4 separate regions of the Homo sapiens genome follow, and all the other regions are linked to region 3. Evidence: promoter capture Hi-C in 16 types of primary human blood cells and fetal thymus (Javierre and others, 2016). All regions are on one chromosome and are shown on one strand. The core of a region is centred on a gene start or on the middle of the fragment in contact, and the rest is flanking DNA. Distances in the headings are between cores, read along the strand shown.

Evidence for each region. Contacts are between HindIII fragments. The CHiCAGO score rates a contact against its expected background, and 5 or more counts as called.
Region 1: a contact is called between a fragment that was not itself captured here and the fragment with the promoter of TAF1L in region 3, in 1 of 17 cell types (M2 macrophages). The highest score is 6.2, in M2 macrophages.
Region 2: a fragment that was not itself captured here is called in contact with the fragment with the promoter of TAF1L in region 3 in 1 of 17 cell types (M2 macrophages); the score reaches 5.1 in M2 macrophages.
Region 4: a contact is called between a fragment that was not itself captured here and the fragment with the promoter of TAF1L in region 3, in 1 of 17 cell types (M2 macrophages). The highest score is 5.8, in M2 macrophages.

Annotation. Positions count from the first base shown.
Region 1 is chr9:32,807,418-32,810,117 of GRCh38, reverse strand. No RefSeq gene overlaps it. Among named protein-coding and RNA genes, the nearest start is that of TMEM215, 25 kb to the right of the region's middle. The HindIII fragment of the contact is 837 bases long and covers 863-1,699 here.
Region 2 is chr9:32,865,533-32,868,585 of GRCh38, reverse strand. No RefSeq gene overlaps it. Among named protein-coding and RNA genes, the nearest start is that of TMEM215, 84 kb to the right of the region's middle. The HindIII fragment of the contact is 3,619 bases long and covers 1-3,053 here.
Region 3 is chr9:32,634,137-32,636,942 of GRCh38, reverse strand. TAF1L (TATA-box binding protein associated factor 1 like) reads left to right here and starts at 1,274. Exons shown (of 1, transcript NM_153809.2): 1 at 1,274-2,806. The coding sequence starts at 1,364. The HindIII fragment of the contact is 7,933 bases long and covers 1-2,806 here.
Region 4 is chr9:32,837,752-32,840,451 of GRCh38, reverse strand. No RefSeq gene overlaps it. Among named protein-coding and RNA genes, the nearest start is that of TMEM215, 56 kb to the right of the region's middle. The HindIII fragment of the contact is 1,001 bases long and covers 851-1,851 here.

The DNA of each region.
Region 1 (2,700 bases), core at 32-2,531, 170 kb before region 3:
GATTTTGGCCATTCTAATAGGTGTGTAGAGGTATCTCATTGTTTCAATTTGTAGTTTTCTGATGACATGTGAAGCAGAGCATCTTTTCTTGTGCTTTTTTTTCCCATCTGTTTATCTTCTTTGGTAATATGGCTGTTCAGATCTTCTGCTGATTTTTAAATTGGGTTCTTCACTTTTTTGGGGGTGGGGACAGAGTCTTGCTCTGTTGCCCAGGCTGGAGTGTAGTGGCGTGATCTTGGCTCACTGCAACCTCTGCCTCCCATGTTCAAGTGATTCTCCTGCCTCAGCCTCCCAAGTAGCTGGGACTACAGGCACACGCCACCATACCCAGTTAATTTTTGTATTTTTAGTAGAGGTGTGGTTTCACCATGTTGGCCAGGATGGTCTTTATCTCTTGGCCTCATGATCCACACATCTCGGCCTCCCAAAGTGCTGGGATTACAGGCGTGAGCCACCACGCCTGGCCTGGTTCTTCATTTTCTTACTGTTGAGTTTTAAGAATTCTTGGCATATTTTGGATAACAACTTTTTATCAGATACGTCTTTTGCAAACATTTTCTGCCAGTCTGTAGCTAGTATTCTAATTATCTTGATACTGTCTTCAGCAGAATAGAAGTTTTTACTTTTAATGAATTCCAGCTTATCAATTATTTCTTTCATAGATCGTGCCTCTGGTATTATAACTAAAAAGTCATAACTATATCTCAGGTCATTTAGATGTTCTATGCTATCTTTTAGGAGTTTTATAGTTTCGCGCTTTACATTTAGGCCTATGATCTGAATTTTGAGTTAATTTTTTGTGAAGGGTGTAAAGTCTATATTTTATGTGTAGCTGTCCAGTTGTTTCATATATTAAAAAGCTTTATCCATTGTACTGCCTTTGCTCCTTTGTAAAAAAAGATCAATTGACTATATTTATGTAAGTTGATTTCTGGGCTCTCTATTCTGTTTCATTGATCTATTTGCTATTCTTTTGTCAATAACACACTGTCTTGGTTACCGTAGCTTTATAGTAAGTCTTGAAGTTGGGTAGTGTCAATCGTCAAACTTTGTTCTTTTTTTTCAATAATGTGTTGGCTATTCTAGTTCTCTTGTCCCTCCAAAGGAAGTTTAGAATCAGTTTGTTGGTATCTATAAAATAACCTCACAAGATGTTGACTGGAATTGTGCTGAATCTATAGATTAAATTGGAAAGAACTGACGTCTTAACAATATTGAGACTCCCTGTCCGTAAACATGGAATATCTCTACATTTATTTAGTTCTTTGATTTCTTTCACCAGAGTTTTGTAGTTTTCCTCATGTAGATCTTGTATAAATTTTGTTAGGTTTATACATAAAGTATTTCATTTTGGAGGTGGTGCTAATACAAAAGATATTATATTTTTAACTTCAAATTCTACTTGTTTATTGCTGGTATATAGAAAAGTGATTGGCTTTTGTATGTTAGCCTTGTATCTTGCAATCTTGCTATAATTGTTTATTAGTTGAAGGAGTTTTAAAAATCAATTATTTCAGAATGTCTATGTAGACAATAATGTCTAAGTCATGTGCACAAAGACAGTTGTATTTCTTCCTTCCCAATGTGTATACTTTTGTTTTCTTGTCTTATTGCGTTAGCTAGGTTGTCTAGTTTTATGTTGAAAAGAAGTGGTGAGAGGGAACATCATTGCCTTGTTCCTGATTTTTGTGGGAAAGCTTTTAGTTTGTTACCATTAAGTATGATGTTAGCCATAGGTTTTTTGTAAATGTTCTTTATCAAGTTGAGGAAGTTATCCTCTATTGCTATTTCCTGTGACTTTTTATCATGAATAGATGTTGGATTTTGTCAGATTTTTTTTGCACCTGTTGATATGATATGTGATTTTTCTCCTTTAGCCTGTTGATATCATATATGATGGATTACATTATTTAATTCTCAAACATTGCACTAGCCTTGCATACCTAGGATAAATGCCACTTGGTTGTAATATGTAATTCTTTTTATACTTGTTGGATTTGATTTGCTAAAATTTTCTTGAGGATTGCATCCATGTTCATGAGAGATATTGATCTATAGTTTTCTTCTAAAGTCTTTTTTAGATTTTGCAATTAGGGTAATGCTGGCCTTATATTAATACAATGAGTTAGGAAATAGTCCCTCTTCTTCTGTCTTCTGAAAGAGATTGTAGAGAATTAGTATAATTTCTTCCTTAAATGTTTGGAGGAATTCACCAATGAACCCATCTGGGCCTTGTGCTTTTTGTTTTGGAAGGTTATTAAAATTGATTCAATTCCTTTAATAGATATAGGCCTATTCAGATTGTCTGTTTCTTCTTGTTTGAGTTTTGGCAGATTGTGTCTTTTAAAAAATTAGCCTATTTCATCTAGGTTATTAAATTTGTGGGCATAGAGTTGTTCATAATATTCCTTTATTATTGTTTCAATGTCCATGGGATCTGTACTGATGTCCTGTCTTCCTTTTTTTCTTTTCTTTCTTTTTTTTTTTTTTGGAAGTACAATACAGCCAAGAAATTTAATGCATTAAATCTGAAGGAACATAAGAAGTAATTAACAAATTTACATTAGAACACTTGGTACGCTCTGTCAGAAAGAAACAGATTCAGTAGGCATAATATTTAAAAGGGCAATTATAAAACTTGAACTGCATGATAAAAACAGGGTTATGTAAATATCATAATTATCTCATGTCAAGTCAGCA
Region 2 (3,053 bases), core at 188-2,687, 230 kb before region 3:
TAACCTATGTGTGTGGGCCAATGCATTTTTATTCAGTAACAATGGCTTGGTGAACAATTATTTGGATGAAACTCAAATGCATAACCAAATTTAGGAGTTTTTGAATTATTTATTGTCTTCTGTCAGAACATTATAGTAGTCTCTTAACTTCAGGAAATTAATCAAGAACATCTCACTGTTATGTGGTTAATTACATTCAGTTTTAATTACAATTGCTAATTGATCCCAGCCTACCAGCTTGACATCTGGGTGCAGCAGGCCCACCAGGATAGTGGCAGGCAGGTAAATGCACTGGAGAGCTTCTGTGGGTTACCTCATTAGATAAGTTAGTGGTTGCTAAGAATCTGGGAAGCTCACCTTGGGGGCAACAGGTATTACCAAGAAGGGTGGGTATCTGGATTCCCTGAAAGTTTTCTCTTCAGTTTGAACATCCTTGTTTTTCTCCATGAAACATAGATTCAAAAGCCCTTTATCGAGTGCACTGCTCTCTAGCTGTTGACTAACAGTTCTCTCCAAGCATGCATCTAGAATGAAACCCAACACTCCTGCCACAATCCTGCCAGTACAGGGCAGATCGTGCTTCCCTAGCCTTGGACAACATGCCTCCACCCATGCTGCCATCTCTGGCAATGCTCTCATGTTGCTGGCTCATATTGAGCCTGTAGTTGGTCCAAACTCCAAATCTTCATATGTATTATTGCAACACCAACCTTCCATACTGATGTCCTTGTGAACTGGCCTTTTGGACTCAAGAGTAAGACTCTAAATCTTTCAAGGATGGACAATGTGTGCATTGCTCATGCCCATGGACCGCTCTAATATTAGTACCTTTCCTCTGAGTACAGATCTGGCCTCAGAATCCTTCCCAACACAGTGCTTCAGTCATCTCCAATCATCTCTCAGAGTTGGTACACAAGTACAAACCTAATAGTTTTCCTTGCTTTTCATTTACTTTATTATATCTTATTTTATATTTAACCCATCATGGCAAAGGATAAGTAGAGGTTCTTCTTAAGAACAAGAAGACGAGTGATGGCCAAAGGATTAGAGCTTGATAGAATTAATATCACAAATGTTTAGAGAACTTGAAAGTTGATTGCAGCAAAAGAACAATGGCTTTTATTAGAAAAAGTAATTATTCTCTTACAGTCTAAGGCCTTATTTTGTGCACAGATTATGCCAAAAACTTACCTATTAGAGGAAATCACAATTGCACTTCCCCACCGAGGTTCAGCTTCTTTCTGCTCCCACCACTCTTCCCTATTGCATCAGGTTGGCTTTAGATTCAGGAGAGGGAAGAGAGAAGGGGAGTAGGCCTATTTCCTCCTCTCTTATTCCAAAACACTCATACAGCAATATATTAATATCAGTTTTCAGTTCTTTCTTCTCTAAATAGAAATGGGTAGGGAATGGAAGAGGAAGATGCTGGGTTGACGGCAGTTTATCTTGGTTAAGAGAGAATGGGTTGGGTTGAAGTTTGGGGTTTTGCAAAATACAGCAACTAATCTTCCAGTTAGCAAAGGAGCCTGCAGTATCCTGCAGCTACATACTATTTCTTCACATTTGCAAAAGTCTCTGTGATTCACTGGGTTCAGCAAACTAAAGCATCTTTGCTTGATGAGTGTATAAAACATATATTATAGATGATAAAGCTGGACACAGATAATTGTTCTCTTAATATGCTCTACGTCAGGTATTTCAGACATCTCATCCTGCAGTTGGGAGGGGTTTCCTCATGTGCCCTTGACTTGGTGCCATTCTAATGTTGATAGAGAATATTTTCAGAGCCTGGTTTGCAAGAGCTCTCAGTTGTTAAATGTTCAGGTTGCTATTCATCTCTTCTTCCCTTTCTGCTTCTGACCAATGGGAAGAACACATAAGGAATAATAGCAAGAGAAGAAAGTAACACTTGTCCTCAGTATCAAGTCCCTGATATTCAAAGCAAATTCTGCTAAAAGCTGGATTGGAGAGCCAGATGCTGAAGTGCATGCTTCTACCACAGAGACCACATCTGAGTCATTAGACCCACATGCTCAGCCAGACGAGCGAGTGGGCATGTGAGCAGCTTGGCCTGCAGAGCAGACATAAAGTCACTTATCTGACCACCTACACACCAGGACTATGGGCCTACCTCACCCACCCCAGTTGTAGGTAGAACAAGAACAGCAGCTCTTCCCACAGAGGAGGAACTGCCCAGTGGTGCTTACCATGTGGGAGCAGTAATGGAAGAGATGGTCTTTACCACAGTGATGCCGCCCACCAGTAATGGTGACATAGTGAGTGTGAACTCCCACTCACCGATGATTCCTTTCCTTGGTGGGAAGTGAGTAAGGGGTAGGAGATACCAGAGAATTCCACTCTGAAGAGTGGGGAAAAGGCCCTTCATCTACCAGCTGGGACTTACTACAAGCATAAACATTCCTCCCCTCCCTGGCATCAGTTCTGAAAAGTACTGCTATTGTGCTATTCCTTGGAGAATGTCTTGCGAAGTAATTCGAGATGTGATGATTGGGGAAGCAAACTTAAGCTGAAAAGACAGTAGATATTTTCCCTCCCCTACTGCCTGTGTACTTGCATAAAGGATACTGGAATCTTGATTGGAGAAAAATGTTATGACTGGAAAGCTCCTCATGGATAACCTGCAAATCAATCTTTGGTTTATGCAAGGCAGCACCTGTGCCTCTGTGCTGATGGTGCAGATGTAGTAATGACCACGCTGAAATGCCAGCTGCAAGCCTGGGATTTAGGGAGCCTACTCTTTCCCTGGGGTGGGGGTTGGGTGAATCCAACTTAAAGAAAAACAAACATATGAGAGGTTGGCGTGGAGAGACTGAAAAGTCTGTGACTACTTGGCTTGTGAAAATTGCCTTTTGTTTCTGAAACAATATTATTTGTGAAGAAAATTCAACTCTCCCAGTGTAAGAACTCTTCTTTTTGTATTTGTATTTTATATTGGAATGCACTATGGCAATGATTGAAAAACACCGTGAATGAATTTGGGAATTAGGCCAAGTTAGGTTTAGGATCTAGCTCCATTACCTATCAGGGGGACC
Region 3 (2,806 bases), core at 25-2,524:
AGAATGGATGTGGAGAGGTGAGAACTTTTATACACTGCTGTTAGGTATGTAAAATGGTACAACTACTTTGGAGAACAATTTAGTAATAGCAAGTGTAGTTGAAAAAGCATATATTGTAAAATCTAGTAATTCCACTCCTAGATGTATACCCTGGAGAATGTGTCCTACATATGCTCAAGGAATCATATACATTATTTATAAGAGGAACAATTTGGGAACAATTTAAATGAACAAACATAGGAACATAGATAAATTGTAGCATAACCATACTGTAGAACACTATAGAGCTATAAAAATAGAATTGAATGCATCAACATAGTTGAATATCATAAACATAAATTTTATCCAGAAAACATTCTGGCTAAGAGTACATACAGTAAGGTCGGGTTTGGTGGCTCTTGCCTGTAATCTCAGCACTTTGGGAGGCCAAAGTGGGAGGATTGCTTGAGGCCAGGAGGAGTTTAAGACCAGCTTGGCTAACATAGTGAGATCCCATCTCTTAAAAAAAAGGAAGGGGGAAAAAAAAAACGAGTACACACAGTAAGATGCCTTTTATACAAAATTGTAAAGCATGACAATGCTATAGATTATTTGGAGAAGCATACATATGCAGTTCATGTATAAAGAGATTTACAGAGGCTGGGTGCAGTGGCTCACGCCTGTAATCCCAGCACTTTCGGAGACAGAGACGGGCTGACCATCTGAGGTCAGGAGTTTAAGACTAGCCTGGCCAATATGGTGAAATCTTGTCTCCACTAAAAATACAAAAAATTAGCCAGGCATGGTGGCTCATGCCTGTAATCCCAGCTACTGTGGAGGCTGAGGCAGGAATCTCTTGAACTCCTGAGGTGGAGGTTTCAGTGAGCCGAGATTGTGCCACTGCACGCCAGCCTGGGGCGACAGAGCAAGACTTTGTCTCAAAAACCAGCAAACAGGCTGGGCGCGGTGGCTTACGCCTGTAATCCCAGCACTTTGGGAGGCCGAGGCAGGCGGTTCACGAGGTCAGGAGATCGAGAGGCTAACATGGTGAAACCCCGTCTCTACTGAAAATACAAAAAAAAAAAAATTAGCCAGGCGTGGTGGCGAGCGCCTGTAGTCCCAGCTACTCAGGAGGCTGAGGCAGGAGAATGGCGTGAACCCAGAAGGCAGAGCTTGCAGTGAGCCAAGATCGCGCCACTGCACTCCAGCCTGGGCGACGTTGCGAGACTCCGTCTCAAAAAAAAAAAAAAAAAAAAGTTTTGCGGGTTTTTCCCCCCGCCCCTTTGCCCCCTCCCCCCGCCTTTATTCAGCTTCCGGTAGACGCTGGTAGGGTAAGGGAGCTAAGTAGATCACTTCCGGGCGACTGTTGTTTTATTTCCGGTTTATGCGACCCGGCTGCGATTTGCTGCTGAGGGCAGCAGCTACCGTCACTGCCGCCATCATGTCAGACTCGGACAGCGAGGAAGATTCATCTGGAGGTGGCCCATTTACTTTAGCGGGTATCCTTTTCGGCAACATCAGTGGAGCGGGGCAGCTGGAGGGGGAAAGCGTCTTGGATGATGAGTGTAAGAAGCACTTGGCAGGCTTGGGGGCTTTGGGGCTGGGCAGCCTAATCACTGAACTCACGGCAAATGAAGAATTGACTGGGACTGGCGGTGCCTTGGTAAATGATGAAGGGTGGATTAGGAGTACAGAAGATGCTGTAGACTATTCAGACATCAATGAGGTGGCAGAAGATGAAAGCCAAAGACACCAGCAGACGATGGGGAGCTTGCAGCCCCTTTACCACTCGGATTATGATGAAGATGACTATGATGCTGATTGTGAAGACATTGATTGCAAGTTGATGCCTCCTCCACCTCCACCCCCGGGACCAATGAAGAAGGATAAGGACCAAGATGCTATTACCTGTGTGTCTGAAAGTGGAGAAGACATCATCTTGCCCTCCATCATTGCCCCTTCCTTTTTGGCCTCAGAGAAAGTGGATTTCAGTAGTTACTCTGATTCAGAATCTGAGATGGGACCTCAGGAAGCAACACAGGCAGAATCTGAGGATGGAAAGCTGACCCTTCCATTGGCTGGGATTATGCAGCATGATGCCACCAAGCTGTTGCCAAGTGTCACCGAACTTTTTCCAGAATTTCGACCTGGAAAAGTGTTACGCTTCCTACATCTTTTTGGACCAGGGAAGAATGTCCCATCTGTTTGGCGGAGTGCTCGGAGAAAGAGGAAGAAGCATCGTGAGCTGATACAGGAAGAGCAGATCCAGGAGGTGGAATGCTCAGTAGAATCAGAAGTCAGCCAGAAGTCTTTGTGGAACTATGACTATGCTCCACCACCACCCCCAGAGCAGTGTCTCGCTGATGATGAAATCACGATGATGGTTCCTGTGGAGTCCAAATTTTCCCAATCAACTGGAGATGTAGATAAAGTGACAGATACCAAACCAAGAGTGGCTGAGTGGCGTTATGGGCCTGCCCGACTGTGGTATGATATGCTGGGTGTCTCCGAAGATGGCAGTGGGTTTGACTATGGCTTCAAACTGAGAAAGACACAACATGAACCTGTGATAAAATCTAGAATGATGGAGGAATTTAGGAAACTTGAGGAAAGCAATGGCACTGATCTTCTGGCTGACGAAAACTTCCTGATGGTGACACAGCTGCATTGGGAGGATTCTATCATCTGGGATGGGGAGGATATCAAACACAAAGGGACAAAACCTCAGGGTGCAAGCCTGGCAGGCTGGCTTCCTTCTATTAAGACTAGGAATGTAATGGCTTACAATGTTCAGCAAGGTTTTGCACCCACTCTGGATGATGACAAA
Region 4 (2,700 bases), core at 102-2,601, 200 kb before region 3:
TGATTATGGTATATATCTTCACAACATTTCTATAACCCAGATATTATTATAATCCCCATTTCCCAGATGGGAATGCCAAGACTCAGTTACTTGTCCAAGGTCACGTAGCTTATAAATGCAGAGTCAGGTCTTAGACCTGTCTGATTTAAGAGCACATGCTACTGATCACTTACTACTTTGCTTCTTGTGGTCAGTAGGGAATTTAGAGATTTACTCCAACTGAAGAGGAACCTTAGGCCCAGGAAAGTTAAAAGACTTAGCTAGGTTCCCTTTGTTAGTTGGCAAATTTGAACCGCCCATGACTTAGATCTCCTTAGCTCATGTCCTTTTTGCTCAAGGTGAAATAGGCAATTTGGGCTATAGGAACATCTGCAATTTCTATTTATCAATATGGAAAACCCTAGAGTTGTCCTGTCCTCTTCCTGGCTTTTTCATCTTGTATCCAGACGGCCAGTCAGCAAATCCTGTTGATTCTTTTACCACGGTGTCTTCCATGTGGTAGCGCTTATGTGAGATAATGGTTATGAGTCTGATTCCAGCTGGGTTCAAATCTCAGCTGTGCCACTTCCTGCTGGATGATTTTGGGCAAATTAGTTAGTCTCTCTGGGCTTCAGTTTTTTGGTCTGTAAAATGGAGAGGAGAATGTCGCCTGCCATATAAGATTGTTTTGAGGATTAAAAGCACATGGAGCGCTTAGGATGCCTGGCATAGCATATGCTCAGTCAGTGTTATTATTCACACAGCTTTTCCTTTTCTGCCTCAGGGCTGGTTCAGATCTTCATCTTCCCACATCTGGACAAAACACAGTCCTCTAAGCATCCTGTCTCTTACACTATTATGAGATGAAGCTTGTCTTGTTCTCTTGCTCAAGAATATAACTGCCTATGGCATCATATCCAGACTCTCCAGGCTTACATTCAATGCCCCACATGACTAACTTCTTCAGCCTTTGCGATGAGTTAAGACAACTCTACAGTTTGGGGGCACAGTCCTCACATGACTTCCCTCACTTCTGACATGAGCTGCAAATTTGGTAATGCGCAGGCTCATCCTTATTTCAGACCAGCTGGCTACAAATCTGGGGACTCCCACAACCACCCTCAAGTTCAATAATTTACTAGAATGACTCACAGAACTCAAGGAAGTGCTATACTTCTTATTGTAGTTTTATTACAGTAAAAGGATACAAATTAAATTCAGCTTAGAGAGGAGACACATGGGGCAGAATCCAGGCGGGGTCTAGTGCCAGCTGCCAGTCATTTTCTCCCTATCGGGTCATGGACAACACTGCTTCCTCCTGGTCACCATGTGCAACGAGACACACAAAGTGTTGTCAACCATGAAAGATCACCTCAGCCTTTGGTGTTCAGAGATTTACTGGGGCCTGATCACATCCTGCCTGAGTGGCTGACCTTGAGTTTCCAGCCACTTCTGGAGACTGGAGATCAAGCTAATATCTTTAGTTGTTCCTCCAGAGGTCATAAATGACACTGCGTGGCCCTAAGGCCACAATCACAAATCACATTGGTAGGCTGTTAGTAGCCAAAGCTCCCCAGCAACAAAGACTCAGGCAGGGCATTCTAGGGGCCTAGGAACCAACTCCCAGTACCTTAGGGTAAAAGCCAGACTTCTTTTTGGGTAAGGTTAATTGTTTACTACACAGCCTTATTTCCCATTGCTCTTCTGCAGGACATCTCCTGCCAAACAAGGTAATACTCAAACGGTCCCATACCATGCAGTTTTTTTTTCACCTGTAATATTTCTCCCTTTACTTCTAAAATGCAGAAGCACTTTGCATTCCATGAGGCTCAGCTTAAGTCTTACTTACCCCTAGAAACTTTGCCCAAAGCTTTTCTAATCACCCACTTTTCTAACTAGTTGGTGTATGCCTTGTGTGGCTTTGCAATGTGGCTGGTATTCATAGACTTCCCTGAGCCTTATATCTCTCTGAGCCTATGTGTCCACCCAAAGTAATTGCTTAGAAAATGCTTATTATTGATGATAATTTTCCTTGTGTCTAAGGCATTCGATAAATCTCTTGACATGAACTGAACTGTTTCTTCATGATTGTAAATTAGGCATCTTTGTTGGGTGTATCTTATTCTTTCTGATGATTTGGGCTTTAATTTAGATATGTCACTAAGTGAATTATTAGATCCTAAAACAATCAAATTCAAATTGACCTTCAGAATGTTTGCAAATGAAAACAACAAGTGGTGGGTTAACATAAGTGGTCCCCAAGAGGTCAAAAAATGTTTCCCTGGAACCAATGCACTGAGTGAGACTGGCTTGGCAGTTATTTTTACTGTGACCCCTTGTGGGTTAGACCCTATAAAAGTTGGGTAAATCTCATCCAGAGAGCTCTTTTGAGAAATAATGATGCCTTGTTTTAGTATCCCGAGATCCCAGGATTGAGCACTTAGTTAGGAAGGACCACTGTCTGCAGGGTAGAAAGATGGGTTTTTGCTACTGCTGGGTAGACAAACAAGTTCCCTCACCCCCAAAACAGAACACCTTTACCAAGGTGTCTGAATGACTGGCTCCATTCAGACATGGCCTCAATGTCCATGCCTCAGTTGTCATGACAACCGTGTATGTGTGTTTGTGTGTGTGCACATACATGTGTGTCTGCTGAATGGTGTCTGGAAGCAGCACCTTCAGCATCCAGGCAGAAATAGGTGGGGTGTGCTGAACAGGGAG